Linked DNA regions of Homo sapiens: all the other regions are linked to region 2. The links are contacts of gene promoters, found by promoter capture Hi-C in blood cells and fetal thymus (Javierre and others, 2016). All regions are on one chromosome and are shown on one strand. The core of a region is centred on a gene start or on the middle of the fragment in contact, and the rest is flanking DNA. Distances in the headings are between cores, read along the strand shown. Region 1 has its middle 63 kb from the start of RGS10. Region 2 holds the start of PRDX3 (peroxiredoxin 3). Region 3 has its middle 80 kb from the start of RGS10.

Evidence for each region. Contacts are between HindIII fragments. The CHiCAGO score rates a contact against its expected background, and 5 or more counts as called.
Region 1: a fragment that was not itself captured here is called in contact with the fragment with the promoter of PRDX3 in region 2 in 6 of 17 cell types (naive CD8 T cells, M1 macrophages, endothelial precursors and 3 more); the score reaches 7.7 in naive CD8 T cells.
Region 3: a fragment that was not itself captured here is called in contact with the fragment with the promoter of PRDX3 in region 2 in 6 of 17 cell types (total B cells, endothelial precursors, total CD4 T cells and 3 more); the score reaches 8.1 in total B cells.

The regions. Positions count from the first base shown.
Region 1 is chr10:119,477,474-119,481,022 of GRCh38, forward strand. No RefSeq gene overlaps it. Among named protein-coding and RNA genes, the nearest start is that of RGS10, 63 kb to the right of the region's middle. RefSeq lists enhancers at 601-670, 2,020-2,599. The HindIII fragment of the contact is 2,942 bases long and covers 679-3,549 here.
Region 2 is chr10:119,177,276-119,180,595 of GRCh38, forward strand. PRDX3 (peroxiredoxin 3) reads right to left here and starts at 1,537. Exons shown (of 7, transcript NM_006793.5): 1 at 1,480-1,537. The coding sequence starts at 1,515. RefSeq lists enhancers at 416-1,060, 1,060-1,539 and a silencer at 1,570-1,679. The HindIII fragment of the contact is 12,445 bases long and covers 1-3,320 here.
Region 3 is chr10:119,460,562-119,464,057 of GRCh38, forward strand. No RefSeq gene overlaps it. Among named protein-coding and RNA genes, the nearest start is that of RGS10, 80 kb to the right of the region's middle. RefSeq lists an enhancer at 1,651-1,900. The HindIII fragment of the contact is 4,863 bases long and covers 1-3,496 here.

The DNA of each region.
Region 1 (3,549 bases), core at 900-3,399, 300 kb after region 2:
GATGTTGAACATCTTTTCACAGGCTCAGTTCCATTTGCATATCCTCCTCAATGAGGTGTCTCTTCATGTCTCTTGCCCATTTTCAAATTCGATTGTTTGGCTTGTTGTTTGAGAGTTTGAGAGTTTTTTACCCTCTCTAGATATTAGTCCTTATTGCTAAATTTGTTGTGGTGAGTGGTTGAAGCCTTCGAGCCCTGTTCTGCAGTTTTCCTTATGAGTATAATACACACACATCTGGCTTCATAAAAGGCAGGGTGCCTCCCCAGAGAGGGAGCTGGGCAGGTTGACGGTGCTGGGTCACTCCAGCTGAGATCATTTGCAAGCCTGTCTTTTACAGCCCTTGGTTCTCTTCAAACCCCATGGGCATATTGTGTCTCTGGCTCCCAGTTCTTCCCACCACCTTTCCTATAGGTGGCTTCATCCTACACACTTTGGAGATGGTCATGATACCTTGATGATGACAGAGGGCTTGCACTTCTCCCTACAATGCCATAGATCTAGCCCATTCCTTAAACCGTCTCAAAAAGGCACCTCCAGCCCTTTTAACCTTTGATGCCGTACCCTGTCCTGTTGTTCTTTGCCACAGATTCCAGATTCCTATAGATCCGTGTCACTCATTGTGAATCAAAGCTATTCTGCAGGACACAGAATAAATGGCAGAAAGGGAGGTCACTGGAAAGCTTCATGTAGAATCATAGCTCAGGGCAGGACAGCCTGTGTGCTGCACGCTTGGCCACACCAGCCAACGGTTAAAGAAGTCAGCACTGCAGGGGATGCCCCAGAGAGGGTGAGCAGGAAATTGCAATCTACATAGACCCAAAGGTGCAGAGGAAAGGTCACAGGACCGGGCATCAGAGCCCCCTGCTCACTGCAGGTCTCTCTGTGTGTGTGGCAGGGGCGTGGCGGGGGGAGAGGAACAGGTGTCACATGACCTCTGTCCCTAAGCATCTGAACTGAAGAAGTAAAGAGGTCAGCCAGCCTCCTCCCACTCCAGACCTCTGGGATACTTAAAGTAAGTGTTGCAGGGTTTGTAGCATCTTGGAACCTTTCTTCCTACATCACAGAAAAAAAAAAAAAAAAGTCCAGTGAACCGGTTCCACCTCTTAAGAAACTGTGGTTTCTACAGCCTGAACTTGAGCAAAACTGGAACATCAGAAAATTATTTCCTCCTGCCCCATCTCTGATGTAATAGCAGATCCAGTCCTCAGCTCTGTTTCTATAGAGAAAGCTGGGTGAACGGGATGGGTCTTTATTGAGTTCCCTTTGACGTTCTTCCAAAAAATAGATGTGATTTTCCCCTCTCCCTCCCTCTGTCTCCTTCCATCATCCTTGCCTCCTTTGGACCCATAGAAGGGGGTTCTTGTGGGAAGTGATGATCTCTGAGCCAGGCCCTCTTTCAGATGAGCTATGAAGTTAGTTTGTTTACTTATTTTTTTCATCTAAACCCCAAATACCACAGAACCAGCACCTGCAATTTTTCCTAACACATCCTTTGAACTTGCTGCAAGTTAAACTGTAGAGGTTTCATTTCTCAGTTGTAATTCAGGGTGTCTTCCCCATGCCATTTGCTTCCAAGGAGCAACATCTTCCTCCCTTTCTACCCCAACTCCCATCAACAACTGAAAAAAACGAGAAATCAGAACTTCAGCCACAGCAGCCTTTCCTGGCTCTGTGTGAACACCGTGGAGAGGATACAGCCCTTGACTCCCTGGCCCTCCTCCCTCTCACGTCTAAGCTGGGAACACCATAAACAGTCACAGTGCTGAGCCAGGCAGAGAGGCAGACGGGTACAGCCAGACGGGACAGATGTAATTAGCAGCATCATTGCTTTGGTGTGCAGAATAGATAGCAGAATGCCGCCACCCACATGATGCTTTGGCAAATGTACTGTCGCTCATTTTCACAAACAATTCAATAGGTCTTTTAAAAGTGCCGACAACAAGCAAAGAAAGTCACGGAAAGAAACCAGAGTGACAACTCAGCCCGAGTGCCAAAGTTACTTGAGAGCTGCTCTGGGAACAGTGAAGCCAAACCAACTCCGAGTTCAATCTGATCCAAGTTCAGATGGACAGAGCCTGGCATCCATGGGGCAAGCAGTGGTGCCCGATTCATCGTCAGATAAAGTGAGCTCAGATGCCACCGTGTTCCTGATGTAGCTGTCACATGATGCCTCTGAGTCGTACTTTTTCCATCTGCTTAATGGGCATGTTGATCCTGGTGTGTGTATTTCTAGACTTGCTGTGAGGCTGGCGGGAGGCCACTTGGAAGGGAAAGTCTTTGTGATCTACACAGTGGGGGTCGTCATTAAGGAAGAGCCTCAGGAATTGCAGCCACAAGGACAGTGCCATTCCTAAGGTAAATCACGGGAAGAAGAAGCCTCTTAACCCCACCTCCTACAGCAGCGAGCATTAACTCCTCCCCAGTGGCAATTCCCCAGGCCTCTCTCCTCATGAAGCCCAAGGATCAATGAAGTAACTCTTACATTCTCCAGCACCCACATGGTCCAGTCTCGAGCCATTGTGCAGCTGGAGAAGCACAGTCCAGTGTGTTTTTCTTCTGTTTCCCCAGCACTCTGAAGGAGAGCCCAACACCAAGTTCTAATAATTTATTAATTTTTTTATTTTTAATGCATTTTTATTTTATTTTATTTTATTTTATTTTATTTTATTTTATTTTATTTTATTTTAGAAGGAGTCACTCTGTTGCCCAGGCTGGAGTGCAGTGGTGCAATCTCAGCTCACTGCAACCTCTGCCTCCTGGGTTCAAGCAATTCTCTTGCCTCAGCCTCCTGAGTAGCTGGGATTACAGGCATGTGCCACCACACCCAGCTAATTTTTTGTATTTTTAGTAGAGACAGGGTTTCACCATGTTGGCCAGGCTGGTTTCGAACTCCTGACCTCAAGTGATCCACCCACCTCGGCCTCCCAAAGTGTTGGGATTATAGGTGTAAGCCACTGCGCTTGGCCTTTATTTTTATTTTTAAAAGACAGGGTCTCACTTTGTCATCCAGGCTGGAGTGCAGTGGTGTAATCATGGCTCACTGCAGCCTCAAACTCCCAGGCTCAGACAATCCTCCCACTACTTAGCCTCCCAAGTAACTGGGACTAGAGGCATGTGCCTTCATGCCCAGCTAATTTTTTATTTTTTGTAGAGATGGGGGTCTCACACTGTTGCCCAGGCTGGTCTCAAACTCTTGGGCTCAAGCAATCCTCTCACCTCAGACTCCCAAAGTGCTGGGATTACAGGTGTGAGACATTGTACCTGGTTTGGGAGCCTATTAAAATCCTCATTTCTCTCCTATCCATGTCTCTCACCCTGGCAGCCACCCTGGCACCCCCTTCACTTCTCCCTTCCCTCTTCTGCCCCTTCCTGTATCATGTAGCTTTGCCTGGCATTTTTTCCATGGGCGGAGATGATGTAAGCCAGCTGGCAATGACGGGGTTTTCAAAGGCAGCTGGTAACAGAGGAAGGCTCGCAGACTAATACTTATTACCCCACTGCCATTGTTTCATTTAATGTTGTCCTCAAAGCTCTCCTGGGTTCAAACTT
Region 2 (3,320 bases), core at 287-2,786:
CTCTAAGAGCATGGATTGGATCTGCATGTTCTTAACACTCCCTTCTGCTTCCTTCTCCTAGGAGACTGGAAGGTGGAGAGGAACTATAAGAACACAAAGACCGGCTGGGCGCGGTTGCTCACACCTGTAATCCCAGCACTTTGGGAGGCCAAGACGGGTTGATCACCAGGTCAGGAGTTCGAGACCAGCCTGGCCAAGATGGTGAAACTCCATCTCTACTAAAAACACAAAACTTAGCCAGGCGGCGGTGGCGGGCACCTGTAATTCCAGCTGCTTGGGAGGCTGAGGCAGGAGAATTGCTTGAACCCGGGAGGCAGAGGTTGCAGAGCCGAGATCGCGCCATTGCACTCTAACCTGGGCGACAACTCCGTCTCAAAAAAAAAAAAAAAAAAAATCAGAAACTCCATGCGCTTAAAGCAACACAGGGTTCAGAAGCCAGGGGACTTGTGCAGGCTTTTCCCAGCACTATCTGCTGAGTATGTTCTACCATTTCAAGGTTTTCCTTAGAAAAACAAGGCCCCTCCAGCACCAGCGACAAGTAAACAAGAAGAGCCAAATTCAGCCTCTGGGAGTCTGTTAAAGGCTCAAGGGACATGTTTACTCAACTTTTTTTTTTTTTTTTTGAAACAGAGTCTCGCTCTTTTACCCAGGCTAGAGTGCAGTGGCGCGATCTCGGCTCGCTGCAGTCTCGACCTCCTGGGCTCAAGTGATCCTCCCACCTTAGCCTCCCCAGGAGCACTGACCACCATGCCCGGCTATTTTTTTTTTTAGAGACAAGGTCTCACTATTATTGTCCAGGCTGGTCTCAAACTCCTGGGCTCAAGTGATCTGCCCGCCTCGGCCTCCCAAAGTGCTAGGATTACAGGCGTGAGCCACCGCACTCTGCCGGTTTGCTCAACTTTAATGTTCAAAATGACTCAGGAGAACGAAAGGGGCTGTGTTGAACCCCACCAGAGAAAGCCGTGTACCAAAAGAGCACGACGCATTGCCCACAGTTAAGCAGGAAACAGCAGCAGAAACACGCGGGAGTGGGATTGGGAGGGAAAGCCTTTGTGAGTTTTTTAGCACTTTGCGCGTTTTTATCCAGTATTTAAGGGGCTGTTCACAGCAACGCCTTGATGTAGGCATCATTCTTTCCATCTTAAGTACACAGTCTGAGAAAGGCGAAGGCGCTTGCCCAAGATCACAGGGTCGGTGGCAGAATCAGGGCCAGGACCTTAAGTGGAGATGGGCCTGGGGACCGGGGACGCCGAAAGAGGAGGGACTCGGGGAAGAGACCGCGAGGATGGAGTGGGGAAGGGCGGTTCTGCGCAGGCGCATGGAACCTTCCCGGAGGGAGGCCTCTGGGTCCGTTACCCGCGGAAACCCTCCAAGAAGGGCGAATGGCCCTCATGCCCAGAAGCGCGGGGTCCTGTCTGAGAAGCACGTTCCCGGAGCCACCAGTGTCTCCACGCCTGTCCCCAGCCGACAGCCACTCACCGACGCTCGGAGCAACCGTCCTACAGCAGCCGCCATCTTCAGTGCACTCGGGCGCCACGGGGCGGGCAGAGACGCAGGGGCGGGGCCTACGGGGTGGTGAGCGGGCCCTCTGCTGGTGGGGGGGCGGGGCCGGAGGAGCCACCGCCTCCCCGCCTCCTGGAGACCCTGAGGGAGAAATTCCCTTTAAGGCTGAATGCTTGGGCAAGTGACACGTGGTTTTCCTACTGTCGCCCCAACCTTAAAAGAACGAATCCAGGCGGGGCATTAGGTATTTGTTTCCATATTTCCCACTGTTTTGTTAACCTTGTGTGGATTACTGTGTCTAGTATTTCTGTGACAGGATCCCTTTCTTATTTCAGCCTCAGGTAGAGACTTCCGGCTTCTGTATGAAATGGAATTAATTACAAATGCAGTTTTAGTCCGTTAATAAGCTAAGTGGGCTAGACACATCAAGGCTTTGTTGGCCTGAAATCCGCTGGAATTGTGTGTGGTCTAACATTTGGCCTCTCTTCCCAAAATTGGGAAAACTGGGACAAATTTAAAATTTGGTTTTTGTCTATTAATGAAGCCAAGTGTTCAGTGGTGAGCATAGTACTTGAAGCAACCACATCAAACATAGATAAAAATCACACCGTGGCCTTACAGTAAGTGTGACAAATTGCAGTCTTGGAGCTGGTATTTTCTTTTCTCTTTTCTTTTCTTTTCTTTTTTTTTTTTTTTGAGACTGGGTCTTGCTCTGTCGCCCAGGCTGGAGTGCAGTGGCATGATCTTGGCTCACTGCAACCTCTGCCTCCCGGGTTCAAGCGATTCTCCTGCCTGAGCTTCATGAGTAATTGGGATTCCTGAGCAGCTGGGATTACAGCCGCCTGCCACCATGCCCAGTTAAGTTTTTGTATTTTAAGTAGAGATGGGGTTTCACCATGTTGGCCAGGCTGGTCTCAAACTCCTGACCTCAAGTGATCCGCCCACCTCGGCCTCCCAAAGTGCTGGGATGATAGGCATGAGCCACTGCACCCGGTCTGAGTTGGTATTTTCCAATCACTAGTCATTCAATTAGCAACTTCGTTTCTCAAGTCTTCTTATCACCAAATATCACTTACTATTTTCTTTAAATTGGCTTTCTTTTTTTTTTTTCCTTTTCTTTTTTGAGACAGAGTCTCACTCTGTCGTCCAGGCTAGAGTGCAGTGGCACAATCTCGGCTCACTGCAACCTCTACCTCCTTGGTTCGAGCGATTCTTCTGGCTCAGCCTCTCGAGTAGCTGGGATTACAGGCGTGCACCACTAAACCCGGCTAATTTTTTTAGTATTTTTAGTAGAGATGGGGTTTCACCATATTGGCTAGGCTGGTCTTGAACTCCTGACATCAGGTGATCCTCCCACCTTGGCCTCCCAAAGTGCTGGGATTACAGGCGTGAGCCACCACACCCAGCCCAGTATATTTTCTAAAATCATCTCAGGTACCACTAGGCGCCACCCTGGGTACCAGTCCCCAGATGTGGAAAGGACTGCCTTGGATGTGTGGGGACACACGTTTCGACTATTTCACCTCACACCTTCCTTGTGTTTGTTTAATTGGTTTTAATTATGTCTGTGTTTAGCAGATGATTGAAAAGGAGACAATCATTTTGGAGCTCAAAATCGTACTGTAGGCCGGGCGCAGTGGCTCACATCTGTAATCCCAGCACTTTGGGAAGCTGAGGTGAGTGGATCACCTGAGGTAAGGAGTTCAAGACCAGCCTGACCAACATGGTGAAACCCTTTCTCTACTAAAAATTGCAAAATTAGCTGGGCATGGTGGTGCATACCTGTAATCTCAGCCACTTGGGAGGCTGAGGCAGGA
Region 3 (3,496 bases), core at 165-2,664, 280 kb after region 2:
GCCTTGACCTCACACCCATTCACACCCAGCCCTGCCTGGAGCCACACTCCAGCCAGGCCTGGAGCCTGGGGAAGAATCTGCTTACTGGGGGACCCTGTGGAATTGGACAGAGAGAAAGAGGGGCCGGCTGGCAATGAGGGTGGGATGAGGAAGGGGCTCTCCCAGGATGGAAGAATGGGGGTACTCATGGCCGAGGATTTGCCGACCAGGCGGGTAGCCCTCAAGGGCAGAAGATGCAGGGGTGGGGCAGGAAATGCTCTGATCTCAGAACAGGGATGGGGAGGACCTCCCCGCAGGGCCCAGCTCTGTCTCTGGGGCTTTCACCACTCCAGAAACTCCACTGTCCGAGCCAGCCTCCAGGCAGACAGAAGCTGCCGTCTCTCCTGGGACAGGTAGGGTATCAGTGGGAGAAACTCCAGCCCCACAGCTCCGGCCCCCCTCACCATTTACACTGCCCTGCCCAGCAGCTTTGGCCCCTTCCCAGGCAGATGGGCTGGGCTGGGCAGGAGGAGTACCCACCTCTTACCTCCTCCACACCTTTCAGGCCTGTGCCCGTCCTGTCCACACCAGACAACCGTGGATTTGGTGAGGGGACCAAAAGAGCCTCCATCTAACTCATTTTCAGGAAAGGCTCAAAGCCAGCATCCCTGGGCCCCAGAGAGCTCCAGGCCACAACCCCTGTGGGAGGCAGTCCTTAAAGCTGTTAGGATCCACCTGCCATATCCAGAGACCGTGAAGAGGAGGGAGAGCTGGGGCCCTGGGAACAGACCCTTGAGCCACAGCATGGCAGGGCTCCTGGTACCACTTTGCCCAGCAGTTTGCCAAGCCAAACATTGCCCAGGCCTGGGCCAGTTGTCATGGGGCCTTGGCTTGGCTATCTTGGGGGAGAGAGCAGGAAAAGCCCATTCAGCAGGCCATGGGGTGAGATCTAGAGTTTGCACTCTAGGGGCATCAACTACTGGCAGGTAAACCACAAGGCGCAGAAGGCTTGGGTCAGCACCTCTCATGCTTCAGGAGTTCTGACTCATTTGGAATCTTGATAAACTAGAATCTGATTCAGTGGGTGTGGGGTAGGGCACAGCCCGTGCTTCTGAGTGCTCCTGGGCGAAGCCACTGGTCCTCAGACAACACTTTGAGCAGAGAGGCCTTAGAAAGCCCCAAACCTGGCTGGGCACCATTTCTCACACCTAATCCCAGCACTTTGGGAGACTTAGGTGGGTGGATCACCTGAGGTCAGGAGTTTGGGACAAGCCTGGCCAACATAGTGGAATCCCAACTCTACTAAAACTATAAAAATTAGCTGGGTGTGGTGACATGCACCTGTAATCCCAGCTACTTGGGAAGCTGAGGCAGGAGAATCCCTTGAACCCTGGAGGTGGAGATTGCAGTGAGCTGAGATTGTGCCACTGCATTCCAGCCTGGGTGACAGAGTGAGACTCTGTCCCAAAAAAAAAAAAAGAAAGAAAGAAAGCCCCAAACCGGAATGGCAGGCTGGGTCTATAGTCAAACCAGGTCCTGTATTCTATGGTACAGAAGTTTTATTAATACTCACCAACATTTGCCCTGCCCTTGAGGGGAACTGATACCAGTAGTTTTCAAAGTCTGACACCCTCACCACTACAGGCTGCAGCAGCAGCCCTGTGAACTTCTGAGAGATCCAGGTTCCTGCTCCCCGTGCCAAGCCTATTGAGTTAGGAGTCTGGGTGGGACCTATGAACAGGACCCCCAGGTGACTGGGGTGCACACTCCAGTTTGAGGCCCACTGGTTTACAAAGCGCTTTCATCTCATTGAGGACGCTTAGGGCAAAGCAGCCACTGATCTTCCTGCCGATGGCTTTTCAGAGTCACAGAGGGCTGAAGAGAGTGAGGCTCTTACCTGCAAATGGAAGCAGGTGGGTACAATTGGCTACCACTGTTCTTAAACAAAAGGAAAGAGGATACGACATAGAATCCTACTGTCATATTTTTAATGAAAAGATAAACCAAAAAAAGGAAAAAAGTTACCTACAGGGAGAGGGAAGCCACCAGGGGAGGAGAGTGAGAGACAGATATAAAAGCCAGTCTGCTCAGAAATGTGCCTTGTCTTGTAGATTTGACTTTGCAAGCACACGTCAAATAAAACACAAATCCAGACTCAGTGGGGAGAGAACTATTTGAAAGATTTTTGCAAGGGAGGAAAGGGGCTACTGCAACAGGGGCTGGGATGGAGAGCACTGCAAAACGCAGAAGGCTTGACCATGCCATCTGCAAGGGTCTTGAGGGTTAGGCGAAAAGATGATCTCTTTTGTAGAAAGAACAAGGCTAGAAAGAGCCAGGTGTGGAAAGTGGGATGAAAGGGTGATGTGATTAGATAAATAGATCAGAAAATGTCACCCTGAGGCAGCCTCTGCTCTGGAGGGGCTGCCTGCAGGCTCAGGCTGAGTTGGTCAAAGTTCAGAGTCCAGGAAGAAGGAGTGAAACTTACCCAAGTCTGGCTAGCAAGCATTTTGTTTCCATGGATCAGTGGGAACAGGCCGTTCAGCTAATCATTTATGAGGCAAAGAATGGGAATTTGGAGGGTCTGTGTCTGGCCTTTCATAGATAAATAAGGGGGACATCCCTCGGCCTTATGGAAGTCTGATGTGGTTGTCTGTGTCCCCACCCAAATCTCGAATTGTAATTCCCATAATTCCCACATGTTGTGGGAGGGACCCAGTGGGAGGTAATTGAATCATGGGGGCGGGTCTTCCCCATGCTGTTCTAGTGATAGTGAATAAGTCTCATGAGATCTGTTGGTTTTATAAAGGGGAGTTCTGCTGCACACACTCTCTCTTGCCTGCCACCATGTAAGATGTGCCTTTGCTCCTCCTTGCCTTCCACCATGGTTGTGAGGCCTCCCCAGCTATGTGGAACTGTGAGTCTATTGAACCTCTTTCCTTTACAAATTACCCAGTCTCAGGTATGTCTTTATTAGCAATGTGAGAACAGACTAATACAAAGTCATATGGGGAAAGGTGGTTTTTTGCAGCATGTTGTTTTCCTGGAAAACAAAAATGTGAGGAGAATCTCTCGTTTTGGCTTTTTGTTGTTGTTTTGTTTTGTTTTATGAGACAGGGTCTTACTCTGTCACCCAGGCTGGAGTGCAGTGGTGCAATCATAGCTCACTGCAGCCTCTGACTCCTGGGCTCAAGCAATCTTTCCACTTCAGCCTCCAGAGTAGCTGGGATTACAGGTATGTGCAACCACACCCGGCTAACTTTTTTAAATTTTTTGCAGAACTGGGATCTCATTATGTTACCCAGCCTGGTCTTGAACTCCTGGCCTCCAGGGATCCTCCTGCCTCGGTCTCCCAAAGTGCTGAGATTACAGATTGAGCCACTGCACCTGGCAGGGGGAATTCCTTTAATCTTCACTGTTTTCCAGGAGCACCGGGCTCAAGTAAAATTCACTATTGTCATATGTAATATATGTTTTTGATAATTGTAAAACAAAACTAAAAATTTTTTATAGCAGCCCC